Linked DNA regions of Homo sapiens: region 2 is linked to region 1. The links are contacts of gene promoters, found by promoter capture Hi-C in human tissues and cell types (Jung and others, 2019). All regions are on one chromosome and are shown on one strand. Each heading gives the region's core, a stretch centred on a gene start or on the middle of the fragment in contact. The rest is flanking DNA. Distances are from core to core; before and after follow the strand shown.

Region 1 (7,013 bases), core at 2,171-4,670:
AGTAATGTGATACTTCTATTTGAGGCACATGGGCTGTGAGACCATCCCCATTTGGAGGCAAAATGGTGGCAGTGGAGCAGGCTCTGCTTAGCAGTTAGATTCAAAGTCCAGTTTCATCCCTGCCAGGGGTCTCTTTAATTATAAAGAAAATGTCATCCAGTTGAGAAAGAAAGGCCAAAAGTTAATTAGAAAAATAATTTACTATACTTTAAAATCATGTATTTAATTCCTTATTAGGTAAGCTTCTCTAATTCCAGGAAAATATTAGATTAAATATAGACAAGGCTAGGAAAATAAAAACCATAGTATTTATATTTTTGTGTTAAGAAATCTGGCCGGGCGCGGTGGCTCACGCCTGTAATCCCAGCACTTTGGGAGGCCGAGGCGGGTGGATCATGAGGTCAGGAGATCGAGACCATCCTGGCTAACAAGGTGAAACCCCGTCTCTACTAAAAATACAAAAAATTAGCAGGGCGCGGTGGCGGGCGCCTGTAGTCCCAGCTACTCGGGAGGCTGAGGCAGGAGAATGGCGTGAACCCGGGAAGCGAAGCTTGCAGTGAGCCAAGATTGCGCCACTGCAGTCCGCAGTCCGGCCTGGGCGACAGAGCGAGACTCCGTCTCAAAAAAAAAAAAAAAAAAAAAAGAAATCTGTGTGTTGTCTGTTACTTTATGTACTCTAAGAGAATATGGTCTGTTTAGAATAACAAATCAGTCTTGAGATTCCAATTAAAACATGTAACTGAGGCCAGGCGTGGTGACTCACATCTGTAACCACATGATTTTGGGAGGCTGAGGCAGGTGGATCGCATGATAGCAGTTTGAGACCAGCCCTGGCAACACAGTGAAATCCCACCTCTACAAAGAAAATTTTTTAAAAGGCCAGGTGCAGTGGCTCATGCCTGTAATCCCAGCACTTTGGGAGACCAAGGCGGGCAGATCACAAGGTCGGGAGTTCGAGATCAGCCTGGCCAATATGGTGAAACCCCGTCTCTACTAAAAATACAAAAATTAGCTGGGCCACGCCTGTAATCCCAGCTACTCGGGAGGCTGAGGCAGAAGAATTGCTTGAACCCAGCAGGCGGAGGTTGCAAGTAGGCCAAGATCATGAAACCGCATTCCAGCCTGGGCAACAGAGTGAGACTCCATCTCAAAAAAAAAATTTTTTTTAAATCAGCCAGGCATGACGTGCATGCCATGGTCCCAGCTACTCAAGAGGCTGAGATGGGAGGATCGCTTGAGCATGGGAGGTCGAGGCTGCAGTGAGCCACGATCGCATCAGTGCAAGCCAGCCTGGGGCACAGAGCAAGACCCTGTCTCAAAACAAAAAACATGTAACTGAGTAGTTAGTTTAGACGTGTGATTTTACATAGAAATTTTACTAAGTTTAAAATCAGTACTGGCAGATGACAAACACATGACAAGATGCTCAACATCATTATCATTAGGAAAATTCAAATTGAAACCATGAGATACCACCATATACCTTTTTAAATGGCTAAAATTTAAAAGACTAACCATAGCCAGTGTTGGGGAGGATGAAGAGAAACTGGAACTCTCATACACAGCTGGTAGGAATGTAAAATACTACAACCACGTCAGAAAATTTGGCAGTTCAAGTTAAACATACATACAGCTACCACAGGATCCAGCCACTCCACTCCTAGGCATTTACCCAAGAGAAAAGGAAATATATGTTCACACAAAGACTTATACACAAATGTTCACAGTAGCTTTATTTGTAGATGCCAAAAAGTAGAAGCACCTGAGATGACCAACAAAGGTGACTGGATAAACTGTAATACCCATATAATGAAATCAGCAAAAAAAAAAAGCTGGGTGCGGTGGCTCATGCCTGTAATTCCAGCACTTTGGGAGGCCGAGGCGGGAGGATCACAAGGTCAGGAGATCAAGACCATTCTGGCTAACACAGTGAAACCCCGTCTCTACTAAAAATACAAAAACAAAATTAGCTGGGTGTGGTGGTGGGTGCCTGTAGTCCCAGCTACTCGGGAGGTTGAGGCGGAGCTTGCAGTGAGCCGAGATCGTGCCACTGCACTCCAGCCTGTGCGACAGAGCAAGACTCAGTCTCAAAAAAAAAAAAAGAACTGACCAGGAACAGTGGCTCATGCCTGTAACCCCAGCACTTTGGGAGGCCAAGGTGGAAAGTGGGAAGGACTGCTTGAGTTCAGGAGTTCAAGACAAGCCTAAGGGCCAGGTGCGGTAGCTCACGCAGGTAATCCCAACACTTTTCGAGGCTGAGGTGGGGTGGATCATTTGAGGTCAGGAGTCGAGACCAGCCTGGCCAACATGGTGAAACCCCCTCTCTACTAAAAATACAAAAATTAGCTGGGCGTGGTGGTGGGCGCCTCTAGTCCCAGCTACTTGGGAGGCTAAGGCAGAAGAATCGCTTGAACCCGGGAGGCAGAGGTTGCAGTGAGCCGAGATCATGCCACTGCACTCCAGCCTGGGCGACAGAGTGAGATTCCGTCTCAAAAAAAAAAAAAAAGCCTAAGCAACATACCGAGATCTCATCTCTACTAAAGATAGATAGATAGATAGATAGATAGATAGATAGATAGATAGATAGATAGATATGCCAGGCGTAGTGGCACACACCTGTAGTTCCAGCTACTCAGTGAGATGGGAGATCACTTGAGCCCAGAAGATCAAGGCTGCAGTGAGCTATGATCACGCCGCTATATTCCAGCTTGGGTGACAGAGCAAGACTCTGTCTTAAAAAAAAAAAAAAGAAGGAAATGAACTATCAATACAAGCAACAACATGGACATATCTCAACATAATTATGCTGAGTAAAAGAAGGCAGAGAAAAAAGAATATATACTGTATGAGTCAATTTATGTGAAATTCCAGAAAATGGAAACTAACCTATAGTAACAGAAAGCAGTTCCATGGTTTCCTGAAGAGTGAGGAGGCAGAGGGAGGAATTCCAAAGGTGATGAATGTGTTCACTCTCTGGACTGCAGTGATGGTTTCACAAGGGTACACATATGTTAAAACTTACTAAACTGTATACTTTAAATATGTGCAACTTATTATATCTCAGTAATACTCCAATAAAGCTATTGTAAAAACTAAAATGTATCACGCCTGTAATCCCAGCACTTTGGGAGGCCAAGGCGGGCTGATTGCTTGAGCTCAGGAGTTCGAGATGAGCCTGGGCAATGTGGTGAAACCCCGTCTCCACAAAAAGTACAAAAATTAGCCGGGTGTGGTGGCTTGAACCTGTAGTCCCAGCTACTCAGGAGTCTGAAAAGGGAAGATCACCTGAGCCTAGGAGGTAGAGGTTGCAGTGAGCTGAGACTGTGCCACTGTACTCCAGCCTGAGTGACAGAATCAGACCGTCTCAAAATAAACAAAAATAAACAAACAAAACATAAAACGGTATAGGAAAGTTTAAGAAAAGTGTAATATTCAGCTTCATTTATTAGATTTACAAGAGTCATTTAGGTATTAGAGGGTTTTTTTAATCAGAAAAATGGAAGAATTATTATTATTATTTATTATTATTATTATTTTTTTGAGATGGAGTCTTGCTGTGTCGCCAGGCTGGAGTGCAGTGGCATAATCTCAGCTCACTGCAACCTCCGCCTCCCGGGTTCAAGCGATTCTCCTGCCTCAGCCTCCCAAGTAGCTGGGATTACAGGCGCGTGACCACCACACCCAGCTAATTTTTGTATTTTTAGTAGCGACAGGGTTTCACCATGTTGGCCAGGATGGTCTCAATCTCTTGACCTCGTGATCTGCCCGCCTTGGCCTCCCAAAGTGCTAGGATTACAGGCGTGAGCCACCCACCATGCCCGGCCAGAAGAATTATTAAAATAGTTAACTGAAGTTGAATATGATTTATAAGTTCAATTGAAACATTTCAGAAGTTTCATCAAATTTGCAAATGGGACCAAGCATTAATCAAAAAGCCCCCTAAGGCCGGGGCGGCGGCTCACGCCTGTAATCCCAGCACTTTGGGAGGCCGAGGCGGGCAGATCACTTGAGTCAGGAGTTCGAGACCAGCCTGACCAACATGAAGAAACCCCGCCTCTACTAAAAATACAAATTAGCCAGCATGGTGGCGGGCGCCTGTAATCCCAGCTACTCAGGAGGCTGAGGCAGAAGAATCGCTTGAACCAGGAGGCGGAGGTTGCAGTGAGCCGAGATCGCGACAGAGCGAGACTCCATCGCAAAAAAAATAAATAAATAAAAGCCCCCTGAAAGTGACTGTTAAAATGTCCTAGAATCGTAAATAGATCAGAAAGATTTATAGGCTACACTTATAAGCTAAACTTAAAAGACTGGCCCTTAAAATAACTAGGTTTCTGAATTCATAATTTTAACAAATTGAAAATCAATTGTTTTCGACCAAAGTAATTTCTGAATAATCTTTGCATTACATAAAAATCCAGGGGTAGGAGTGGGTGTGGCATCCAAACCTCCCTCAGACATGCCACGCACCAGTCACCCGAAACTCACCAAGTCGCTTAGTCTCTAGTCTCTCTGAACCTCTGGTTCCTCACACATTGCAAGAGACAAATATTTTCCAGAATAAATAATATACTTATTATTAATGATTTAATATTAATACATTTCACATTGATACACAGCATGTACATGAGAAGAGGCTCCAAAGCAGCATAAAGTGATGTGCAAACGTAATAAATGGGCAGCATGTGTCACTTCATAGTAACTGCAGCACTCAGTGACAGACAAGAGAAAGGTGACACACATCCCCAGAGACTAAGTATGACTCAGCATGGCCAGGTCGTGGAATTTTCCCAAAGCCTCGTTGTGATGTCATGGTGGATGTCATCAGGAAAGGAGCTGCCACAGAAGCAGTCAGGCCCTTCCACACACAGGCAGTGGAAATGTACTCCCAGCTGTCCCGTGCCCTCCCGGCCCCACCTCTTTCTCTGGCCTCGAGGCATATCAGGACAAGGAGGTAACACAAGAGTAGGAAACCCGAGGTAGTGCTGGGAGTACCTGGGGTAACGCCTTCAGGCATAACACTTAACAACACAACAAAGGGCCACATCCATGTCCCCCCAGGAGAAAGCTGAAGAGGAGGGGAGGGTGACAAGCTTAGACTACAGAGCCTTAGTCCCTAGGCAAAGCTCAAGTCAGCAGTGCCTTGGGAACTGAGGAGCCAAACAAGCTTTGACAAATTACATAACCTGGAAGAAGAGGTCCCTTCTTGGTGACTGATTTTCCCTCTCTATTGATGGATCTAAGGGAAGACATCAATAAAATATGGCAATTTTAAAAGAAGAATAAACAATGGGATCAGCATCTTGGATTCTGCTAAGCAGCCTTCTCTAGGCTTCAGTTTCTTCAGTTCCATAAGACAAGTGGTTTGGGGGGAACCTTCCCCAACATGCCCACCTCTCATTGTAGGGATGCAAGTAAGAGAAATAACATCCAACTCTAGCAGCCAAGAATAAGAGGACAGAGCAAGCAGAGAGAGAACAAGGGGGTGAAACTCGTGGAGGGTGGAGTTCTTCCACGTTACGGCCATTCCCACCATGAGCCCATTGCCCTTACTCAATGGTAGCACGCAGACGGCACCTGCTGGCCCAAGACCTAGCTCCAAGGGAGGACTGCGGGAAATCTCACACAGGAAACCAGCTCCTGCGTCATGAAGGGTCGTCAGAGGAAAACCCCCACATAATGGGTGGAAAACCGAGAAAAACTCCTATACCAAGGAATCCCCACTCAGCACTGGATATGAGCTCTGGAGAAAGTTGTCCCTGAGCCACAAAGTCCCCAAGGCCACAGCGGGCCTGAAGGGAAGAGCATTATTGTTGTCACAAATGCTGGGAGAGCACCTGGTTCCCTGGCTCGGCTGCTCCTGCAGACCAGCAGGGGGAGAGGGGACTGGACTAGCAGGGGACCGGCGGGAGGGCTGTGGAATTTAGGCTGAGGGGAGGCCACTGAATCTCCCAGGCACCTGCCACCATGGAAATCCATGTTGGGGGAACTGTAAAAGCAGTAGAGGCCGGACGCGCTGGCTCACACCTGTAATCCCAGCATCTGGGGAGGCCGAAGAGGGCGGATCACCTGAGGTCAGGAGTTCGAGACCAGCCTGACCAACATGGTAAAATCCCATCTCTACTAAAAATACAAAAATTAGGCCGGGCACAGTGGTTCATGCCTGTAATCCCAGCACTTTGAGGGGCTGAGGTGGGTGGATCACAAGATCAAGAGATTGAGACCATCCTGGCCAACATGGTAAAACCCCGTCTCTACTAAAAATACAAAAATTAGCTGGGCATGGCAGCACACACCTGTAGTCCCAGCTACTCGGGAGGCTGAGGCAGGAGAATTGCTTGAACCCAGGAGGCAGAGGTTGCAGTAAGCCGAGCTTGCGCCACTGCACTCCAGCCTGGCAACAGAGCAAGACTCCGTCTCAAAAAAAAAAAAGAAAAAAAAAAACTTAGCCAGGTGTGGTGGCACATGCCTGTAAAATGTGCAGGGGAAGAAGGGCAGGTCCCTTTTTCCCCGTTGTTACCGTGACTGGCAAAGGTTGAGCGTCACCCTCTGGAAACCCGTGTCAAGTGACTTTACAACCAGCTGGCAGAACCACCTCACACCACAGCTGCCTGCTCTCCATGCTGACTCAAGGGGTCTTCTCAGAGACGGCCCAGCCCCAGGGATTCTTCCTGCCCAGCTTCCCAAGCTGACCATACCCTTCCAGAACCAGGGCCTTCTGCTGAGGCTGGCCAGCTGCCAAATGGGGCCAGCAGGGAGCCAGATGTCACTTTCCTGTAAAAATCAGGAGCAACTGGAAACAGACAAGACTGCTTAAACGGATATTATCCACAAATCAGAGCGCAGCCTTTTTTTATTGATTGAGCTTAAGACCTGACATGCCAAACTGCTGGCATCCACAGCTGCTCCTGGTGAAGACCCCCATGCATCCCGCCAGCCTGGATTCAGGCACAGGACTTACCCTTAGTGTTTGGTCAGCTCTCCAGAAGGCAGACACTATCTAAAGCAAAAGAAAA
Region 2 (6,825 bases), core at 3,975-6,474, 360 kb before region 1:
CATCTGGGAAGTGAGGAGCCCCTCCGCCCGGCAGCCACCCCGTCCGGGAGGGAGGTGGGGGGTCAGCCCCCCGCCCGGCCAGCCGCCCCGTCCGGGAGGGAGGTGGGGGGGTCAGCCCCCCGCCCGGCCAGCCGCCCCGTCCGGGAGGTGAGGGGCACCTCTGCCCGGCCGCCCCTACTGGGAAGTGAGGAGCCCCTCAGCCCGGCCAGCCACCCCATCTGGGAGGGAGGTGGGGGGGTCAGCCCCCCGCCCGGCCAGCCGCCCCATCCGGGAGGTGAGGGGGTGCCTCTGCCCGGCCGCCCCTACTGGGAAGTGAGGAGCCCCTCTGCCCGGCCAGTCGCCCCGTCTGGGAGGGAGGTGGGGGGGTCAGCCCCCCGCCCGGCCAGCCGCCCAGTCCGGGAGGGAGGTGGGGGGGTCAGCCCCCCGCCCTGCCAGCCGCCCAGTCCGGGAGGGAGGTGGGGTGGTCAGCCCCCCGCCCGGCCAGCCACCCCGTCCGGGAGGGAGGTGGGGGGGTCAGCCCCCCGCCCGGCCAGCCGCCCCGTCCGGGAGGTGAGGGGCGCCTCTGCCCGGCCGCCCCTACTGGGAAGTGAGGAGCCCCTCTGCCCGGCCAGCCGCCCCGTCCGGGAGGGAGGTGGGGGGTCAGCCCCCCGCCCAGCCAGCCGCGCCATCCGGGAGGTGAGGGGCGCCTCTGCCCGGCCGCCCCTACTGGGAAGTGAGGAGCCCCTCTGCCCGGCCACCACCCCGTCTGGGAGGTGTACCCAACAGCTCATTGAGAACGGGCCAGGATGACAATGGCAGCTTTGTGGAATAGAAAGGCGGGAAAGGTGGGGAAAAGATTGAGAAATCGGATGGTTGCCGTGTCTGTGTAGAAAGAAGTAGACATGGGAGACTTTTCATTTTGTTCTGCACTAAGAAAAATTCTTCTGCCTTGGGATCCTGTTGATCTGTGACCTTACCCCCAACCCTGTGCTCTCTGAAACATGTGCTGTGTCCACTCAGGGTTAAATGGATTAAGGGCGGTGCAAGATGTGCTTTGTTAAACAGATGCTTGAAGGCAGCATGCTCGTTAAGAGTCATCACCAATCCCTAATCTCAAGTAATCAGGGACACAAACACTGCGGAAGGCCGCAGGGTCCTCTGCCTAGGAAAACCAGAGACCTTTGTTCACTTGTTTATCTGCTGACCTTCCCTCCACTGTTGTCCCATGACCCTGCCAAATCCCCCTCTGTGAGAAACACCCAAGAATTATCAATAAAAAAATAAATTAAAAAACAAAGTGAAACCCCGTCTCTACTAAAAATAAAAAAAAATTAGCTGACCGTGATGGTGGGCACCTGTAGTCCCAGCTATTCAGGAGGCTGAGGCAGGAGAATGGCATGAACCCAGGAGGCGGAACTTGCAGTGAGCCGAGATTGCGCCACTGTACTCCAGCCTGGGCGACAGAGCGAGACTCCCTCTCAAAAGAAAAAATATATATATATACACACATATATATATACACACACACATATATATGTGTGTGTATGTGTGTGTGTATATATATATATTTGTTTTTTTTTTAAGAAACTCAAAAAATTAGCCAGGTGCAGTGGTGAGCAGCTGTAGTCCCAGCTACTTAGGAGGCTGAGGCAGGAGGATTGCTTGAGCCCAAGAGTTCAAGCTGCAGTGAGCTATGATCAGGCCACTGCACTCCAGCTTGGGCAACAGAGCAAGACCCCATCTCTAAAATTGAAAAAAAAAAAAAAATCCAGGTGCTGTAGCTCATACCTGTAATCCCAGCACTTTTGGAGGTTGAGGCAGGTGGATCGCCTGAGCTCAGGAGTTTGAGACCAGCCTGGCCAACGTGGTGAAACCCTATCTCTACTAAAAATACAAAAATGAGCCATGCGTGGTGGCAGGCGCCTGTAATCCCAGCTACTCAGGAGGCCGAGGCAGGAGAATCGCTTGAACCAGGGAGGCAGAGGTTGCAGTGAGCTGAGATTGTACCACTGCATTCTAGCCTGGGCAACAGAGTGAGACTCTGTCTCAAAAAATAAATAAATACATAAATAAAAATTAAATTAAATTTAAAAATTGTAACACTTATCCCCACAGCACGAAACAGACATTGGAGGTGGGTATGGGAAGGCTTACTTTTCAGTACACATCCTGGTATACTTTGTACCATGTGCACGTAACTGGTAAAAATTTAATTAATTTTCTTCTTCCTAATAGTGTTTGAGAACTAAAAGAGGTGACAATTTAATGTAGTGTGATAGGAATGCTAAAGTGAGTTGTTCCAAAGATCACCTTTGCCTCTGACCCTTCCCACTACAATTAACTCCAAGGTCTCAGTTCTTTTGATATAGGAGATTTGGCTTGTATTGTGCAAGGCTTGACATAATGGGACTACTAGGCTTGGGGATTCTTTCATGAGAATTTCACTAAGAAAACAATAGTTTTAGTCTCAATCCCTTCATAGTTGGAAGCATAATGTTCCTGAACCCTCCACTCCCAGATATAGACAAATATTTCTTCTTCCAAAGCAGTAAAGAGGTCTAGATGAGCTGCTGGCCATTTAGGGGTGAGGGAGGCATTTGAGGGCACTGGGCCTGGTCAAGGAGTAATAGGGGTATTCCCAGGAGCTACTAAAGGCTGGCTGCTGAGCTCCTGAACAGGGTTGACTGGTGGGGATCCTTCAGGGCCGAGACCAGGTGGCGAACCCGCCGCTGCTGTTGCAGCCAATAGAGCATCTCCACTTTGTCACTCTTCATCTTGTCCAGGTAGGGCCGCCCCTTGAAGATCACTGGCTCGCCAAAGATTAACTCTATCTCCTCCAGGAGGGAAACCAAAGAAGACTCCATTAAGTTGAGCTTCCTGTGGAGATGGCTTCGGACCTGATTCTCCTCCAGGAAGTGACTGGAGCTCAAGTTGGTCTTTTTGAAGAAGCGGTTGGGATTGGAAGCTTGTCCCTCAAACCACTCTAGTCTCGCCAGCAATGCCTCCCGCAGCTGAATGGGCTTCAGGGCCCGCTCCCAGGCATTCACCAATGAAGGCAGCTGCCTCAGGCGGGCTTTGGAGCTATATTTAATGGTCATGTCCACCTGGTCCTTGTCAGGGACCTCAAGCACAGACCACAGTTGTTCCAGATGCTTCTGCAGGCTCAGAATTTTGTGGGGTTCTCCCAGGTGGGGTGTCTTCCCAGCTCCTAGCCTGTGCTCTAGCACAGTGTTCCAATCCCACTCTCCTGGCACAAAGTCTGGTTCTTCATCTTCTAGCAATGGGGGAGGGTGCTGAATCTCTAGGGACTCTCTGGCAGGGGCCACAATCTCCACAGGAACCTCTTCTTCATGCATTTGAAAGATGACATGAAGGAAATCTGTTTCATGGTTGGTGAGGTACTTGAAGTAGTCATCCACAGACAAGGTGGTTTTCCATGAGTTCATCAAGGAGGCCTTGTTTGACCACTTCTCCCAGCTTTTGGTAGCTTGGAGTGATGGGAGGGAGGGCATCTTCTTAGTATTGGACTGTAAAGTGTTTGCTCTCTGGGAGTAAAGTCCAACCAGCTCAGGGTTGATGATTTGAGGCTGTTTTTCTTGACGTAGAAAGGCTGAGGACAGGAAGGTCGACCAGTCTTTATCTGCTGCAGGCTCAACTAGGGGCCCTTGATCAAAATGTAAGTGGTCAGAAGAGACATGGCTCATCAACTCCTTGTAGACCTCCCTGGTAGTACTGCCAACAAAGTTATCAATATCCATTTTTTCAATGGCTTTGGGATCCAGTTCACCAGCCAGATGGTTATACAGGGCTCCGGCCCCCTCAATGTGGAAAGAGTCTAAGAAGTTTCTATCAGAGACCCGTACGGCAGCCGCCTGGACCACGACCTCATTTCTAAGCTTCAAAGTAATGGTCACTGGCTGTGGGTGAAGTGGAAAGGATTTGGGGGGCTGGGGGTCCCACTGCCCAGAGGCTTCTTCCTCCTGGAGGTTCCTCAACATCTTCTCCAGCTCCTCCAGGCGATGCCCTGCAGCTGGGTGACGGGTCACAACCCCCAGGAGAGGAGGCAGGCCTGAGTCCAGTGGTGGGTAGCGAGTCCCCTCCAACTTCATCTTCTTTATCAACTGCTTCAGATCCTCAGCCACGATGAGCCCAGTCAGCTCTGGTTTGCTCTCTGTAGCCAAGACCAGCGGGGTTAAGGGGCGAGATGGGAGTGGAGGAAGGCCCAACTCATCTGCCAGCCTCCAGCCCTCACGCAGGGAGGGCATGGATTGGCCTCTCCGGAGCTCAGGGCAGAAAGGCGAGGGGGAAGCCCTGCTGGTGGGGGCCACAGGATAGCTGGGCAGCGACACCATCTGTGAGGAACTGATGTCGATTTCTCTCTTCTTTCCTATGGAGGGCAGCCAGTGGAAAGGCTTTTTCCTCTTCAACCGAGGGATGGACTTCAATTCCTTCACTGGATCCATCCTTCCTGGCTCATTGAGAAACTCTGGTGGACGGCTGAGTTGGATGAGGTAGTTCAGGTTGAGGTTAGAGCACTGCACTTGGGCGAAGCCAGTGCTGTGAGGCCAGGGGATAGGGCACAGCTTGAACGTCCCAGCGGGGCAGACAGGGTGCAGCTTGTCCACATCCCCAGAGGCCTGCTCTGCCCTCAGCAGGGCCTGGAAGTCGGCAAGCAGGCCACGGTAGACGTTGGGACTAGTAAGGAAGAGTGTGCAGTCCCTGGCGAGGCTGGCGGCCAACCGGGTGAGGGTGGCTGATTCAGTGAAGACCCCCCTGGGAGTCGACATGGTCACCAGCAGGTGCAGGTAGCGCAAGAAGAGCTGCTCGCTGCTCAGCAGCACGTAGGCCTCGAGCCGCTTCCGCAGCTTCTGGTTGTTTTTGTGGCTCAGACTAAGTTCGGCGGGCGGCTCCCGCCAGCTGCACTTCAGCTCGTCCAGGATGACCTTGATGAGACGTAGTCGGGCCTCAGGAGGCACTCCCGCTGCTATCCCGCTGCCGGCCAGCAGCTTGGCCACCTGGCTGCACAGCGACGCCACCGTCAGCTTCGCCAGAGGGAAGGACTGCAGAATCCGGCCCTCCTGCGGGGGGCGCTTCTGAGGCTCTGGGGACGTCGTCCTAGTGGGGAAGAGCGACAGCGGACGCAGCAGCCGGTGGTAAAACCGCTGGAGCTCAGGCTCGGGCTTCGGGGGCTCCATCATAGAGCCGGCGGCCGCCACCGTCCAGGAACAGAAAGCCGAGGGGTTACTAAGGCAACCAGGAGCCCGACGGCCCGAGTGCGCCTGCGCGGCCGCCACCCGGTGGCTGACGAAGCAGGGCCTTGCGTGCGCACGCACTAGGAGGAGGAGTTAAGGGTGGCTTTAGAGGCTCAGTCCCCGCGACGCCGCGCTGGTTGGTGCTCCTGCGCCGGAGGAGTTCTGCGTCTCGGGGTGGTGACTGGGTCCAGAATGGCTTCGGATTCGGGGAACCAGGGGACCCTCTGCACGGTGAGGGTCGAGGCTTCGTGTGGAGCCTCGCCGGGCAGAGAGCCTCGGCCCCTGGGATGATCGTTACCTTGGGAAGAGGAGAAGGAGTGGGCACTTGGGTTGGGGCCTGGGGCCATGGGATGAAACTAGGGTGCGAGGGTAGCAGGGGCCCTGCGTGAGTGTTGGGGGGTGACTCCCATGGTCCTGGAATGGTCATGAGAGATCATGAAGAAGGTGCTTGAAGAGGGGTTAAGTGGGGCTTGTTCCCAGACCCTTGCGGTGGTCATAGGGTAGGTGGTGAAACAAAGTCATACCAAGGCACTTCCCCAGCGATCATCGGTTGGTCCCTGCCGCCCTTGCAGTTGGAGTTCGCGGTGCAGATGACCTGTCAGAGCTGTGTGGACGCGGTGCGCAAATCCCTGCAAGGGGTGGCAGGTAAGAACAGGGTAAACTTTTCTGCAGACAGTCCAGAAGCCTCTGGGAGGGACCAGGCGAATCTATTAGGCGAACCCTACTCCCATTTTACAGATGCAGAAAGTGAACCCCAGAGAGTGAAAGGCATGTTCTCAGAGTTACACACAGACCTGGAGGCAGAGCCTAGAGTACAGCTGTCCAGCTTGCCCTGACAGATTCTAACTGCCTGTCTTGTTGTCCTGAACCTCAGGTGCCCCAGAGACTGAGGAGCTAGGCTGAGGGAGTTCCTGGGAAAACAGGCAGTTTTTGCTTGGGAAACAACATAATCTTGACAAAGCAAACAGCAGCTCAGGCCCTATACCATCCTGGGTAGCTTTCTATACCACTGGGTGTGGTGGCTCATGCCTGTAATCCCAGCACTTTGGGAGGCCGAGGTGGGTGGATCACCAGGTCAGGAGATCGAGACCATCCTGGCTAACACAGTTAAATCCTGTCTCTACTAAAAAATACAAAAAATTAGCCGGGCGTGGTGGTGGGCGCCTGTAGTCCCAGCTACTTGGGAGGCAGAGGCAGGAGAATGGCGTGAACCCGGGAGGCGGAGCTTGCAGTTAGCCGAGATCGCGCCACTGCACTCTAGCCTGGGCAACAGAGTGAGACTCCGTCTCAAAAAAATAATAATAATAAATAAAAGGCCAGCTGGTCTGGAGGTGACCTGGCACAATGAGAAAGATCTGGAAAGGTAGAGCCACCAGCATGGCTCTGGGAACTGGCTTCCTTTGATTCTGTTAAGTGTTTATCCAGGCCAGGCTCAGTGGCTCACGCCTGTAATCCCAGCACTTTGGGACACCAAAGTAGGTAGATTGCTCAAGTCCATGAGTTTGAGAGCAGCCTGAGCAACATGGCGAAAACCCTCCTCTATAAAATATACAAAAATTAGCTGGGCGTCATGGTGCACTCCTGTAGTCCCAGC

Evidence for each region. The method cuts DNA at HindIII sites, captures the fragments that hold promoters and counts their contacts. A contact is called where the count stands out against the background at its distance.
Region 2: a contact is called between the fragment with the promoter of CCDC87 here and a fragment that was not itself captured in region 1, in 1 of the 25 tissues and cell types used here (dorsolateral prefrontal cortex).

The regions. Positions count from the first base shown.
Region 1 is chr11:66,945,472-66,952,484 of GRCh38, forward strand. PC (pyruvate carboxylase) reads right to left here. Exons shown (of 23, transcript NM_001040716.2): 3 at 6,959-6,997. Among named protein-coding and RNA genes, the nearest start is that of PC, 9.4 kb to the right of the region's middle. The HindIII fragment of the contact is 7,176 bases long and covers 1-7,008 here.
Region 2 is chr11:66,587,839-66,594,663 of GRCh38, forward strand. It overlaps CCDC87 (coiled-coil domain containing 87), which reads right to left and starts at 5,225. Exons shown (of 1, transcript NM_018219.3): 1 at 2,338-5,225. The coding sequence starts at 5,177. The coding sequence ends at 2,628. It overlaps CCS (copper chaperone for superoxide dismutase), which reads left to right and starts at 5,347. Exons shown (of 8, transcript NM_005125.2): 1 at 5,347-5,462; 2 at 5,804-5,876. The coding sequence starts at 5,424. RefSeq lists enhancers at 4,011-4,600, 4,601-5,189, 4,752-4,811, 4,982-5,091, 5,122-5,211. The HindIII fragment of the contact is 7,748 bases long and covers 3,410-6,825 here.